Regions from separate parts of the Homo sapiens genome. Here region 1 is linked to region 2. Evidence: promoter capture Hi-C in 16 types of primary human blood cells and fetal thymus (Javierre and others, 2016). All regions are on one chromosome and are shown on one strand. The core of a region is centred on a gene start or on the middle of the fragment in contact, and the rest is flanking DNA. Distances in the headings are between cores, read along the strand shown. Region 1 overlaps COL16A1 (collagen type XVI alpha 1 chain). Region 2 holds the start of KPNA6 (karyopherin subunit alpha 6).

What was found. Contacts are between HindIII fragments. The CHiCAGO score rates a contact against its expected background, and 5 or more counts as called.
Region 1: a contact is called between a fragment that was not itself captured here and the fragment with the promoter of KPNA6 in region 2, in 1 of 17 cell types (fetal thymus). The highest score is 5.1, in fetal thymus.

Annotation. Positions count from the first base shown.
Region 1 is chr1:31,647,452-31,654,233 of GRCh38, reverse strand. It overlaps COL16A1 (collagen type XVI alpha 1 chain), which reads left to right. Exons shown (of 71, transcript NM_001856.4): 69 at 191-367; 70 at 558-635; 71 at 1,381-1,971. The coding sequence ends at 1,583. It overlaps PEF1-AS1 (PEF1 and COL16A1 antisense RNA 1), which reads right to left. Exons shown (of 6, transcript NR_184313.1): 3 at 2,246-2,385. Among named protein-coding and RNA genes, the nearest start is that of PEF1, 6.0 kb to the right of the region's middle. The HindIII fragment of the contact is 1,256 bases long and covers 1,639-2,894 here.
Region 2 is chr1:32,106,742-32,113,782 of GRCh38, reverse strand. It overlaps KPNA6 (karyopherin subunit alpha 6), which reads right to left and starts at 5,727. Exons shown (of 14, transcript NM_012316.5): 1 at 5,649-5,727. The coding sequence starts at 5,652. RefSeq lists enhancers at 4,997-5,514, 5,472-5,901, 5,515-6,033. The HindIII fragment of the contact is 1,772 bases long and covers 4,239-6,010 here.

The sequences.
Region 1 (6,782 bases), core at 1,017-3,516, 460 kb after region 2:
GGGGAGCGACGTGGAGGCCAGGACGTGGGAACCCCCTTGCGAGACCCACCCCCATACTCCTTGCCCTGACATCCCTGTGAAGGAAGGCTGCTGTGGACTTCATGCTGGTGGCCTATATGCAGCATCTGCAGTCATTCTGAGTCCCTGGGGGACCCTCTGACCTGTCCCTGTCCTTGTCCTTTTTTTACAGAGAGAATGGCTTACTACACCTCCAGGATGCAGTTCCCCATGGAGATGGCGGCAGCTCCGGGACGACCAGGGCCTCCAGGGAAGGATGGTGCTCCGGGCAGGCCAGGTGCTCCAGGGTCACCTGGGCTCCCTGGTCAGATTGGCAGAGAAGGACGGCAGGGCTTGCCAGGAGTAAGAGGTAGCTCTGCCCTACAGTTCCCAAGGGACACATGTAATTCTTTGGGGCAGGCCTAAGTATTCCATGAGGTCTGTTGTGAATATGGGATGTATGTGTGTGTGTGTGTGTGTGTGTGTGTGTTTCAAGTAATCTGACTGGCTGTGTCATTTTTCTGCTCAGGGATAGGACTTATTTATTTCTTTTGTTCCAGGATTGCCTGGTACCAAAGGTGAAAAAGGGGACATTGGTATTGGCATTGCAGGAGAAAATGGTCTTCCCGGCCCCCCAGGTAGGAAATACCACCATTTGAGACCATGAATCCAGAGCAGCAGAGACCCCTTTTCTTTCTGTTTCTTCTATGACACAGCTGTGTCAAACTCCAAATAACGACAGGCCAGTCAACCACATTTATAGGAATGCCACTGTGTGCAAGACACTCTGCCAGGGCCTGTGGGGATGTGGGGGCGGAAGACTCAGTACCTGTCCTTAAGTCCTAAACTGGGCTAGCATGATGCAGTAGGAGAGAGCTGCATGGAGGTGGGGATGAGGAACTCGAGTTCAAGTTCTACTCAGCACCTCACTGGCTGTACACCTTGAAGAGGCCACTTAAGCCCTTTGGAAGTGCTCTCTACGATGAATGTTTGGCTATATAGCCTGAAAGAGGATGGCCAAAGCCTGATGACCTGGCTCTGAGACCCAGCATCACAACTTACCAGAGGTGCAACCTCTCTGAGCCTGTGTCCTCATCTACAAAATTAGACAATAGCTTCTTTCTCAGGAAATTGTGCAGATTCAATGAATAATGCATCAAAAGCACTCAGCCCTGTGCCTGGCACATGGAAGTTCTAAATAAAACTTGCCAGCAGTATTGTTATTGTTAAATCAACGTGAGGATCAGACTAGGTCTTCATGAAAACATGTGGTAACTTGAGAAACAGTCATCAAATGTAAGGTATTATTTGATGCCATTATGGCTTCTTTTCCCTTATGATCTGGGTCTTCTGATTTTCCCTCTGTGGCCCTTCCCTCCCTAGGTCCTCAAGGTCCTCCAGGCTATGGCAAGATGGGTGCAACAGGACCAATGGGCCAGCAAGGCATCCCTGGCATCCCTGGGCCCCCGGGTCCCATGGGCCAGCCAGGCAAGGCTGGCCACTGTAATCCCTCTGACTGCTTTGGGGCCATGCCGATGGAGCAGCAGTACCCACCCATGAAAACCATGAAGGGGCCTTTTGGCTGAAATTCCCCACCTGCCTTTGGATGAAAGACTCCGTTGGGAATAAATGGCCAAAGCTTATAGGACTCTGTGACAGGTTGTGAATGTTTTTTTTGTTGTTGTTGTTGTTTTTAATTGCTGTTAATATTTTTTAAATAATAAAGAAACAAAACTATCTGCCCTTTCCCTTCCAGTGGGTTCCTCTGGTGCTGCAGCCAGAGCTCCCTGTTGCCCTCCTTTTCCCGTTTAGTCCCAGGAACAAAAAAGGGCATTTTGGGTACAGGGGCATATACCTGTAATCCTAGCTATTCAAGGGGCTGAGGTGGGAGGATCGCCTGAGCCCAGGAGTTTGAGACCAGTCTAAGCAACATAATGAGACTCAGTCTCCGAAAAATAAAAATTAAAAAATAAAGGGTATTTCCCTCCTTGCCTGTGGTCAGCCAGTGGTGCTGTGAGATTCTGCTGGATGGGGGCAGCTGATGACCCTTTGCTCCTCGGGATCTTGTGCCCTGTTCTTCATGCCTACGTCTCTTGAGTTAGAGAAGGAGCATCACTCAGCCTCTTCTCTCAAGTGAACCAAAGCACGTTGGAAGGTCCCACTTCCTGCTTTAAAGGTCCCTCCCTATTTGATTCCCTAAAGAAACCCGTGTTCAGTACCCCACCCACTCTTTGCCCATCCACTTCACCTTGTCAGTGTGACCCAGAGCCGGTCCGGGTTGCACCCTGGGAAAATGCCACCCGGTGCTGAGGTGTGTTCATCTGCCTGGAAGCCCTTCCAAGCATGCAGGCACTTCTTGATGCTCCAGTAATTCTGTGATTAGAATACCTGTGCAAACAGGAGAGAAGACAGGCTCCAGCTCTGTCCTAGGCATCCAGGGAATGCTTCTCTGGGAAATGAGATGGAACCTTCTGCCTGTACCAATGCATGGTCACTAGCTCTCTATAAGTGCTTCCAGCAATGACTTTCTGGAGGGCAAATAACATCTCCTGTTTTTCTTTATTATTCTAATATACGTGGTACTTTTCCTGTACATCTTAGCCTAGGCCTTTAGAAACAGCCAGGTTGTATCAGTACAAAGAGTTCATGGGCAAGCCACGAGCAGATCTAAGCTCACGGTCCTCAAAGTCCACTGGGAGTTTGGTGATCTATCTGTTGTGTCCTTCTCCCTATGTAAAAAAGGCTAGGAAGGGGAAAAAAGACAGTGAATTGAATATTATAGAAACATTCTCTCTTGAGCTTCTTCCTTCTCTACTTTTTAGATCTCTTGTCCTGATGGGCTGGCTGCCCTGTGAGAAAGCAACAAGGCACTTCCAGGGGGATTTCCAAAGAAAGCTTTTTCACTGGCCCCAGCTATCTGGAAGGTTTATTCAAGTTGGATACACTTCAAAGGACTCACAGAGCAGGCTCAGAAATGTACCCAAAGTCTAGATGCTTATCCAAACTGCCTGAAGCCTTCAAACCGGCTGTCAAATCTCTGCAGAGCTGGTATTTCTAGCACATTTCTGAAAACTCCCTTCTCTAGTTGGGTCCCAAATACCAGGAGACCAGCCTATTGATGGCTTTTCAGAACCTTTGCCCTATTTTTTTTTTTCCTGCCAGGAGCAAAGGTGTGCTGGTGGCCAGAAGAATGAAATCAGACTCCTGAGCATGCCCGAGTGTCTCATGTGATGTTTTTAGATAAAGGAGGCGCTGATTCTTTTTTCATCCCTCCCCAGCTATTCTCAGTTAACCCTGGTTCTAACATAAAACATTAAAAAGCAAAGGCATCATTTTTGTACTGAAGTAGCAGCCAGGTTTTGGACAGTGGAAGAGGACAGATGTTAAAGCACTCCCATTGGAAGGCCAGCTTCCTCTTTCAGCCTAGTCTGCCGAGTACTAGCTGATGATAGGCCTTCTCATGAGGAGCATGTTGGCGCTGGCAGAAAGAAAGAGACGCAAGGACCAGCTGTGGAATTGAGCAGGTTGGCTTTGAAGGCCAGAGGGGAAAAACTGCTATGAGGAAACATCCAACTCATCCCCTTTAAGGGTCACCAGGGAATTGATCCTTATAGAGTAAATGATGCCTTCTTCACTTTTCTTCCTGAGTCAAATTCATGCTACTCTTAAGGGATTCTACGACAGGCTAGGTTTAAGCTTTCATGATTTGAATGCATGTCTCCCCGGAGTTTGAAATTGCTGTATTTTCTTGGACCATGAAGAACCAGATGGAAAGCTGAATTTTATAGTCTCTTCTGTTACTGTGGTCAGCAAGAAATCCATGGATCTTGCTCATCAGTTCAGGAGCTGGGTAAGCTGAAGAGAAAGCAAGGAGGGGCATGTGTCGTCCATTCCTCTTAGGCAGCTTTTGCACGTTCCAACCCCATTATCCTTCTGTCTTCATTTCTTAACCTACTCCAGGCTTTCCAGGCAGCACACAGATCATTCAGATTGGAAAAGTCTAACTTGATGAGTCCATTCCTCTTCCTACTTTGTCCCAGGGACTGTACTAGGCTCTGGGGATCCCAAGGCAAACTAGACAGATATGGTCCCTGCTCCCACAGCATCCACAGGGAGAGCAGACAGTTAAACAAGCACCTACAATAAAGTGGGATGATAGGGCAGTGCCAGGTACAGGGGAGTGCACAGCTGGGGAACCTAACCATGTCTAGACGAAGAGATGGATTCAGGCAGAGGGAACAGCACGTGCCAAGGCCCAGAAATGACTGGTTGCAGCAGGCTGAGTGACGGGAGACAGGACAGTGTGATTGGATTTTGGAGCATGAGCAGGGAAGACAGTTGGAAGCCACTGGTGGGTTTCTCACAAAGGTGTGTCAAGTCAGGTTTGCCGAGTGGGGAGTTCGCTGATGGCAGTGTGAAGGATGGGACTGGAGGGTCCTTAATTTGAGAAACCCTCTGCTCAATAAGATGGAGAAAAGGCTGCTGTGTATTTATTCTGCAGAGAAAAATCTAAACTTTGATGCTTCTGGAATTTAAATCTTCATTTTTTGTCATAATATTTTCCTCTGTCACTCAAATTCAACAGAATCTAATTAGACTCTTTCTTCATCTGGGGTCTGTTAACCCCTTTACAAGACTAGTTTTTTTTTTTTTTGGAGGTGGGGGGACAGAGTCTCACTCTGTCACTCAGGCTGGAGTGCAGTGGTGCGATCTTGGCTCACTCAACCTCCACCTCCAGGGTTCGAGTGATTCTCCTGCCTCAGCCTCCGGAGTAGCTGGGACTACAGGCACAAGCCACCATGCCCAGCTAATTTTTGTATTTTTAGTAGAGACAGAGTTTCACCATGTTGGTTAGGCTGGTCTTGAACTCCTGACCTCAGGTGATCTGCCTGCCTCGGCCTCCCAAAGTGCTGGGATTATAGATGTGAGCCACCGTGCCCGGCCATGGATATTTTTTTTTTTTTTTTTTTGGTGCTGGAGATCCCAAAGGACTAGATCTTTTTTGTGGCTGTCCTGAACAGTTTATGGGAATAGACGATGTCAACGTACTCTACTTATGATCCCATAATGGAAGGGGAGTGTGGCCAAATTGCCACGTCTGCTGTTCTCATTCCTCTGTTGCTTCTGTGGAAAGTTGCAAATCATCCTCTGATCCACAGCATCCAACTGGAATTTAAATTTCAGAACTGGATCTAGTTGGAATCAAAGAGAATTAATTCCATAATAATTAGGTGGGTGTTGGTATTCCTTCTCAGTAAGCCTTACAGAAGCTTGGTGCGAGCCAAGTGGCTCCTGGGAGGCTGTGTCTCTAGGGGAGGCAATATTTTCCAGTGGATGGGCTTTTCATTACCAAGCTCTGCCTCACCCCTAATGGGTCAACCGCAGGGCTTCCACGAACTCAGGAAAGTGCTCTGTGTTCTAAAAAAAGTCTGGAATCCATGCTTTCCCCTTGGGCTACAAGTGAAACAATAACAGGAACTTCTCCACCCACCTCTGTCTGCCTCAGGTAGATGAGGTTTTGGAAGTGAGTTGATTGTTTTTCAGTCTTAGGAAGATCCTGATCTCTCTTTTATCCAGCCCCCTCCAAAACAAACATACCTGGGCCTGTGTGGGTCCTCAGAGGCACAGCCCTGGCTGTTGGCTTTGGCACGTTCCTGACTCCCTAAGAGAAGATGTGGATGCTCCATCCACGAAATAGCACAGACCTCCCACAGATAGTTCTCCTAAGCCCTTTGCTGGGCATAGGGGAATGGGGGCAAATAATTCTCATAGGAGTTGGATTCTCATCACCTAGAACAGAGCCTGGCAAGAGGTGGGAACCCAATGGGATCATATGTTTGTGGAATAAATGAGTGTGTGTCACATGACTCCAGTTTGCAGGCCAGCTTGTCACTGTTCTCTCTCCAGGCAAATACCCACTTGACCTTCAACCTTCTTCCCTTCTGAAGTTTTGCAGCTCAATTCCACCAATATTTTTTGAACTGGGGGGTTAGGAAGGTAAAGAAGACACAATCTACTAACTATTAAATACTGAGTAGTTAAAAAAAATGCAGACCTGGGATCAAGTCCTACTTCTCCATTTATCTTTTTTTTTTTTTTTTTTTTTCCCCAGACAGAGTCTCTCTGTTGCCCAGGCTGGAGTGCAGTGGTGCAAACACAGCTCATTGCAGCCTTGACCTCCTGGGCTCAAGCAATCCTCCCACCTTGGCCTCTGGAGTGGCTGGGACTCCAGACACATGCCACCATGCCTGGCTAATTTTTTAAAACTATTTTTTGTAGCGATAGGGTCTCACTATGTTGTCCAGGCTGGTTTCGAACTCCTAGGCTTAAGCGGTCCTCCTCCCTGCCTCCCAAAGTGTTGGGATTATAGGCGCGAGTCACTGCGCCTGGGCTCCATTTATCTTTTTGATAACAGGAAGGTCACTTAACCTCTCTGAGCCTCAGCTCCTCATTATAAATGGGTAATAGTCTCTATCTCAAAAGACTGTGGTGAAAATTAAACAACACATAGTACTTAGCACAACGTCTGGCACCTAGTAAGCACTCAATACATGATAATAATAACTACTAACATTGAATTCATGCTAGGCACTATTCTAGGTGCTGAGGTTAGAGGACTACATAAGAAAATGACAATTCTACAATATACATGTAAACAAAGTGGACAATTCAACTAGTGACATGTATTATGAAAAAATAAGATAGATGATGGGAATGCTTGGGGGGCAGTGTCAAGAAACTCCCCCCACCCCAGGTGATATCTGAACTGAGACCTGGATGATAAG
Region 2 (7,041 bases), core at 4,478-6,977:
CTACTCCTTGTGAAAATGCCGTTAATCCTGTTGATAAGACAATAGGCTGGGCAAGGTGGCTCACACCTGTAATCCCAACACTTTGGGAGGCTAAGGCAGGAAGATCACTTGAGCCCAGTTCAAGACAGGCTTAGGCAACACTCTTTAAAAACAATTTAAAAAATTAGCCGGGCATGGTGGTGCATGCCTGTAGTCCCAGCTACTCGGGAGGCTGAAGTAGGAGGATTGCTTGAGCCTGGGAATTCAAGGCTGTAGTGAGCTGTTGATAGCACCACTGCATTCCAGCCTGTGTGACAGAGTGAGACCCTGTCTTAATAAATAAAAAAAACATATATACATACATACATACACACATACATGAAATGACAACAAAGGATTTTTGGGGTTTTTTTGAGACAAGATCTTGCTCTGTCGCCCAGGCTGGTGTGCAATGGCACAATCATCTCACTGCAACCTCAACCTCCCAGGTTCAAGTGATTCTCCCACTTCAGTTTCCTGAGTAGCTGGGACTACAGTCACGCGCCACCACACCCAGCTAATTTTTTAAATGTTTTTTTAGAGATGGGGTCTCACTATGTTGCCCAGGCTGGTCTGAAACTCTTGAGCTCAAGCAGTCCTCCCACCTCATCCTCTCAAAGTGCTGGCATCATAGGCGTGAGCCACCAAGACCGGCAGATTTAGAACATTACATAAACTTAGTTGATAAAGCAGTGGCAGGGTTTGAGAGTACTGACTCTAATTTTGAAAGGTCTATGGCAGAGAGAAATGTTATCAAACAGTATCACATTACAGAGAAATCTGTGGTGAAAGGAAGAATCAATTGATGTGGCAAATTTCATAGGTTGTTACTGCCACCCCAGACAATCACCACCCTGATCAGTCTCAGCAGCCATCAACATCAAGGTAAGACCCTCCACCAGCAAAGATTACAGCTCACCAAATGGCAATTTTTCACAATAAGGATTTCTTAATTAAGATATGTACTTTTGGCTGGGCATGGTGGCTCATGCATGCCTATAATCCCAGCACTTTGGGAGGCTGAGGCAGGCAGATCATGAGGTCAGGAGTTCAAGACCAGCCTGTCCAACATGGTAAAACTCCGTCTCTACTAAAAATACAAAAATTAGCTGGGTGTGGTGGTGGGCACCTGTAATCCCAGCTACTCAGGAGGCTGAGGCAGGAGAATGGTTTGAACCCAGGAAGCGGAGGTTGCAGTGAGCCGAGATCACGCCATTGCACTCCAGCCTGGGTGACAGACAGGGCCAGCCTGTCTCAAATAAATAAATAAATAAATAAAAGAGGTACTTTTACTCTACATATTATTGCACACTTAAGAGACTACAGTATAGTATAAAGATAACTTTTATATGCATTGGAAAACAGAAAAATTCATGTGACTTGCTTTATTATATTTGCTTTATTGCAGTGGTCTGGAACCAAACTTGCCTTAGCTCTGAGGTATGCCTCTACTTAGAAGAGTACCTAGCACATAGCAAGTTCTATACAAGTGTTGGGTATTATTATTATTATAGCTTTCCCATCTCTGTCTTTGTTTGTGGTTCACACATTTTGGTGCAACCTGGGTTAAAATACAAACTGGCAAAAAATAATAAAATAAAAGCTGGCAAGTCTCTTTTAAATAAGGAAGGCTTCTCCACAAGTTCCCCAGGCTTCCCTTCCCATCTAATTAGCAAGAACTGCATCATATGCCCATGCCTAAATCAATCACTGTCTAGGGAGCTAGAGTTACAATGATTGGTTTAGAGTTTATATCAAGACCCACCCCTTGGGGTAAGGAAGGGTGGCCAGATTCCCAGTTAGCACAGTAGTAGTAATGGTGAAAAGACAAGTAGTGTCTGCCAAGACTCATGAGGTTGTAGTCTCTGCTAGAGGGTCAGAATAAAGCAATCTCCAGAGCTACAAATATCACCCCTACAGGGCACCTAGTGGCAGGGAAATCACTGCAAAGGTCTGTTAAGGGTAATGAAGTTTGGCATAGTAGAAATAGTGTAGGATATACGACTGAGCTAGTAGGATACAGACTGAGAGTACACTTAAGAGGCAGTGAAATACGGCAGGTTCCGTACTTGTGGGCATGTGAAGGCAGGCTGTGTTAGTGTCTCCAGTGCCCAAAGGATCCAGAATACCAGCCTTGGACTAGTCACCTAATCTTCTCAAAGCCTCAGTTTATAAGTGTAAATGGAGATAACCCAAGATACCTTAGATTAGATGTTAGAATTAAATGAATGCATTAGTTTGGTCTACAACAAACAAAAAGCTGACATTCATAAAGACAAGCTACGATGAGGGAGAGGTACCTGAGATGGAGCTGGAAAGAGGAAGTTACCTGACTCTAGGCTAAAAACCCCCTTCAAGACCTTGGTCAGGGTTTGTTGCTCCACTGAAGAACTTTCATGTTGAACTGTACCAGAATAGGACTAACTTTATTTCTTAACTTCTTAAGTCTTATAGATTTATGTGCTGCAAAATGGGTAAGAATCTTACTCCTGGCTTTGTGGCTTACTGGCTGTGTTATCTTCTCCGAGACAGTTTCCCAATCTATAAAACTGAGTAAATCTCTACTTATTTCACTGAGCTTATTAAACATTAGTTCCTTCCCTTTGAGGCAACAGTGTTTCTGAAACTGAAGACCAATATAAAATTTATAACAAAGTTTATAACATAAAACCCCCTAAATTTTTTTCACTGAAAGATGAAGCTCCAGCTACTAAGAAAGGCCTATCAGTCTTATTACTCAATAGGGAAACCTGGAAACCAGAGTGCTTAAGGGAAAGGAACATTATTGAAAGTGGAAAAGAATCTGTTCTGATATTCATGGAGCCCTTTAGGCTCCAAACACTGTTATCTGTTTTTTGTTTGTTTATTTGTTTGTTTTTGAGAGGGAGTCTAGCTTGTTGCCCAGGCTGGCATGATCTCGGCTCACTGCAACCTCCGCCTCCCGGGTTCAAGCAATTCTCCCTTCTCAGCCTCCCAAGTAGCTGGGATTACAGGAGCACGCCACCATACCCAGCTAATTTTTGTATTTTTAGTAGAGACAGGGTTTCACCTTATTGGTCAGGTTGGTGTCGTCCTCCTGACCTCAGGTGATCCACCCGCCTCGGCCTATGGGATTATAGGCCTGAGCCACCTTGCCCAGCCCAAATGCTGTTATCTTATTTAGTCCCCAAATATCTTGATAACACAGCCCCACCCCTTCTTTCTAGAGGTCAGAAAAGGAAGGCTCAGAAAGGAAGAAAAACATTATTGTGGACTGTGCTAGATGCTTTCCATATGTGTTGTTGTGTCTGACATTTAAGTGACTTCCAATACCAGATCTGATTCTACAGTCATTGCCTTGAAGCTCAAGTGAATAATTTCTGCTTCCTTAGAATCTCAGATCTTTAAAAATCCAATTCCAGGCCAGGCGCGGTGGCTCATGCCTGTAATCCCAGCACTTTGGGAGGCCGAGACGGGCAGATCACCAGAGGTCAGGAGTTCGAGACCAGCTTGGCCAACATGGTGAAACCCTGTCTCTACTAAAAATACAAAAATTAGCTAGGTGTGGTGGTGGATGCCTGTAATCCCAGCTACTCAGGAGGCTGAGGCAGGAAAATTGCTTTAACCCGGGAGGCAGAGGTTGCAGTGAGCCGAGATCTGGCCACTGCACTCCAGCATGGGAGACAAGAGTGAAATTTCTTCTCAGAAAAAAAAAAAAAAAAAAAAAAATTCAATTCCAGATTCTCATTTTGCTTGCCCCACACACAATAATTAGAGTTATCAATTCACTCTGGACTCCTTCAGTTTCGTTCAGAAAAAGGATTTCAAAGTGGCCGGGCATGGTGGCTCACGCTTGTAATCTCAGCACTTTGGAAGGCGAGGCGGGAGGATCACGAGGTCAGGAGATCAAGACCATCCTGGCTAACACGGTGAAACCCCGTCTCCACTAAAAATACAAAAAAATACAAAAAAAATTATCCAGGCGTGGTGGCGGGCACCTGTAGTCCCAACTACTCGGGAGGCTGAGGCAGGAGAATGGCGTGAACCCGGGAAGGTGGTAGTTGCAGTGAGCCGAGATCGCGCCAATGCACTCCAGCCTGGGCAACAGAGCCAGACTCCGTCTCAAAAAAAAAAAAAAGATTTCATAATGGGCCCACATGCAAAAACAAAAAGCAAAACAAAACAAAATAAACAAACAGAAAACCCAAACACATTTACAACTTTGCCTAGGGTTAAAAGCTTTTTTCCCCTTTTCTCCCTGCCCAACCACTAGAGGGCCAGGTCATTTAAAAAAAAAAACAAAACAAAAAAACAGGCTGGACGCAGTGGCTCACACCTGTAATCCCAGCACTTTGGGAGGCCGAGGCAGGCGAATCACTTGAGGTCAGGGGTTCGAGACCAGCCTGGCCAACATGACGAAACCCTGTCTCTACCAAAAACACACAAAAATCAGCCGGGCGTGGTGGTGGGTGCCTGTAATCCCAGCTACTCGGGAGGCTGAGGCAGGAGAATCGCTTGAACCCGGGAGGCAGGAGGTTGCAGTGAGCCGAGATCGCGTCACTGCACTCCAGCCTGGGCGACAGAGCAAGACTCTATCAACAACAACAACAAACAGCAGTTACAAACTAGGCTTGGGAGTGTTCACCCTGGCTTAGCCACTGCATGACCTTGGGTAAGTTACTTTACCTCTCTAAAGCTCAGCTTCCACATCTGTAAAATGGCAATGGTAGCATCTATTTCCTTAGGTTGTACAAATTAAGTAAAACAAGACATGTAAAGCAATCAGAACAATGCCCGTACGTAGAAAGAGCTTAGCAAATTTCACAATTTTTACTGCTTTAGAGGAATTACCACTGTTGGTTCTGTCTCTAAATCCAAAGACTTCGCCATGGTATTCTCTCTGAACAGAGGCCTTGCCAGCCGGAGTCCCCTCAGAAAGATCAACAGGTCGCTCCTTTTCTCCTTACCAGGGCCAGCCCAGAAACCTAAAGTCCTCAACCTAAAGATGGCCAAGAGGACTTGGCCTTTGGTGTTCTACCATCACAAGCGATGCCACTCTGAGCCCAACCGAACCACACTATTTCCGCCTTGATTCCGTTCTCCCGGCCTTCAGCGGCGCAAGCTGCCCTCGGCCTGGCTGCCCATGCTTACCGGCCTAGTGCTGGCTCGCCTGACGTCCCCTCACTAGAGGACTCCACCTCGCTACGTAGGTAGGACTTCCCTGAGTTCAGGGGAGCCACTGAATCTAGTCAAGACACGCGTTGGCCAAACACAACCCAGGAGAAAGCTACCTTAGCGCCGCCCAGGCCTGCCGCCGGGAGCCCGTCCCCCAGCCCCAGTCTGGGCGCAGGACAGAGAGTAGGCCCCTTTCTACCTCCCAGGAACACGTGGGCTCCTGCCCGAGGCCACCATGTGGGGGGCTCCAGGCGTGCCAAGGTGTCCCCGAAACCAGCACCAAAGGACTGCTTCCAGCACGGGCCCTAGCTCGGCCCAAAACTGGCAAGAGGGGCACTCCCGGCCTGACTTTTCCCCTCAGACCTAGCTAGAGGGGATGCAGACATCTTCCGCAGACCGGAGACAGGCTCTCGCCAAATCCCAGGCCCCGACACTCCCTGAGCCCAAGAACCCTACTGCGTGGTTTCCTCACTCACCCATCGCGGGTCCGCTCGCTCACTCTTGGCGGCGGAGGCAACGGCGGCAGCTTCAGCGGCAGCTTTCAGTAGACAATATGGCGGATCTGTAGGACGGCAGCCCGAAAGGGACAAACCAGTTAACTCCAGGACGAAACGCTTTATTGGCCCAATCGCCTATCATTACACCGAAAGTGCGCACTTAAAGAGACCGCAGCTACTAAAGGTGGGGAGTGGAAATGAAATAGGAAAGGAGTGGTTGGGAGGAGACTGGAAGGGATACCTAAGAAAGTTAAGTGTGTCTAGGAGTTCCCAGCTGTTTCTGCTACTATTTCTTTTTTATAGTGAGATTTCTTTACCCGGAACTTTTTCTCCCAGAAGCTTATCCCTCCTTTTTTTTTTTTTTTTTTTTTTTTTTTTTTTGAGACGCAGTCTCGCTCTTGTCCCCCCAGGCTGGAGTGCGATGGCGCGATCTCGGCTCACTGCACACTCTGCCTCCCGAGTTCAAGCGATTCTCCTGCCTCGGCCCCCCGAGTAGCTGGGATTACAGGCGCCTGCCACCACGCCTGGCTAATTTTTGTATTTTTACTAGAGACGGTGTTTCAACCATGTTGGCTAGGCTGGTCTTGAACTCCTTACCTCAGGTGATCCGCCCGCCCCCAAAGTGCTGGGATTACAGGCTTGAGCCACCGCTCCGGGCCAGTTTATCCCTTCTTCTAATAGTTGAAACCAATCGGCTGGGCGCTGTGGCTCACGCCTGTAATCCCAGCACTTTGGGTAGGCCGAGGCGGGCGGATCACCTGAGATCAGGAGTTCGAGACCAGCCTGCCCATGGTCTCTACTAAAAATACAAAAATTAGCTGGGTGTGGTGGCGCATGCCTGTAATCTACTTGGGAGGCTGAGGCAGGAGAATTGCTTTAACCCGGGAGGCAGAGGTTGCAGTGAGCCGAGATTGTGCCACTGCATTCCAGCCTGGGAGACAAGAGCAAAACTCCGTCTCTAAAAACAAAAACAGCAATCATAGACCTTGGGCTGAATATGAACAACGAATCATCTAGAGAGGGGAAGTGCCTTGCTCAATGAGGCTATGGAGAGAAGGAAACAAAGAAGTAAGACTAAACTCAGGTTTTCTGATTAGGCCTACGTAGGTAGCCCTAGTTGAGGTTGCAATCTTATTGGGAGATGAGAAATAGAAAAATAGGGCTGGGTGTGGTGGTTCACGCTTGTCTATAATCCTAACACTTTGGGAAGCTGAGGCCAGAGAATCACTTGAGGCCAGGAGCTCAAGACCAGACTGGGCAACACAGTGAGACCCCATCTCCACAAAAAATAAATTAAAAGAAAAAAATTAGCCAGGCATGGTAATGAGCACTTGTACTTGGGCGGCTGAGGCGAGAGGATCACTTGAGTCCG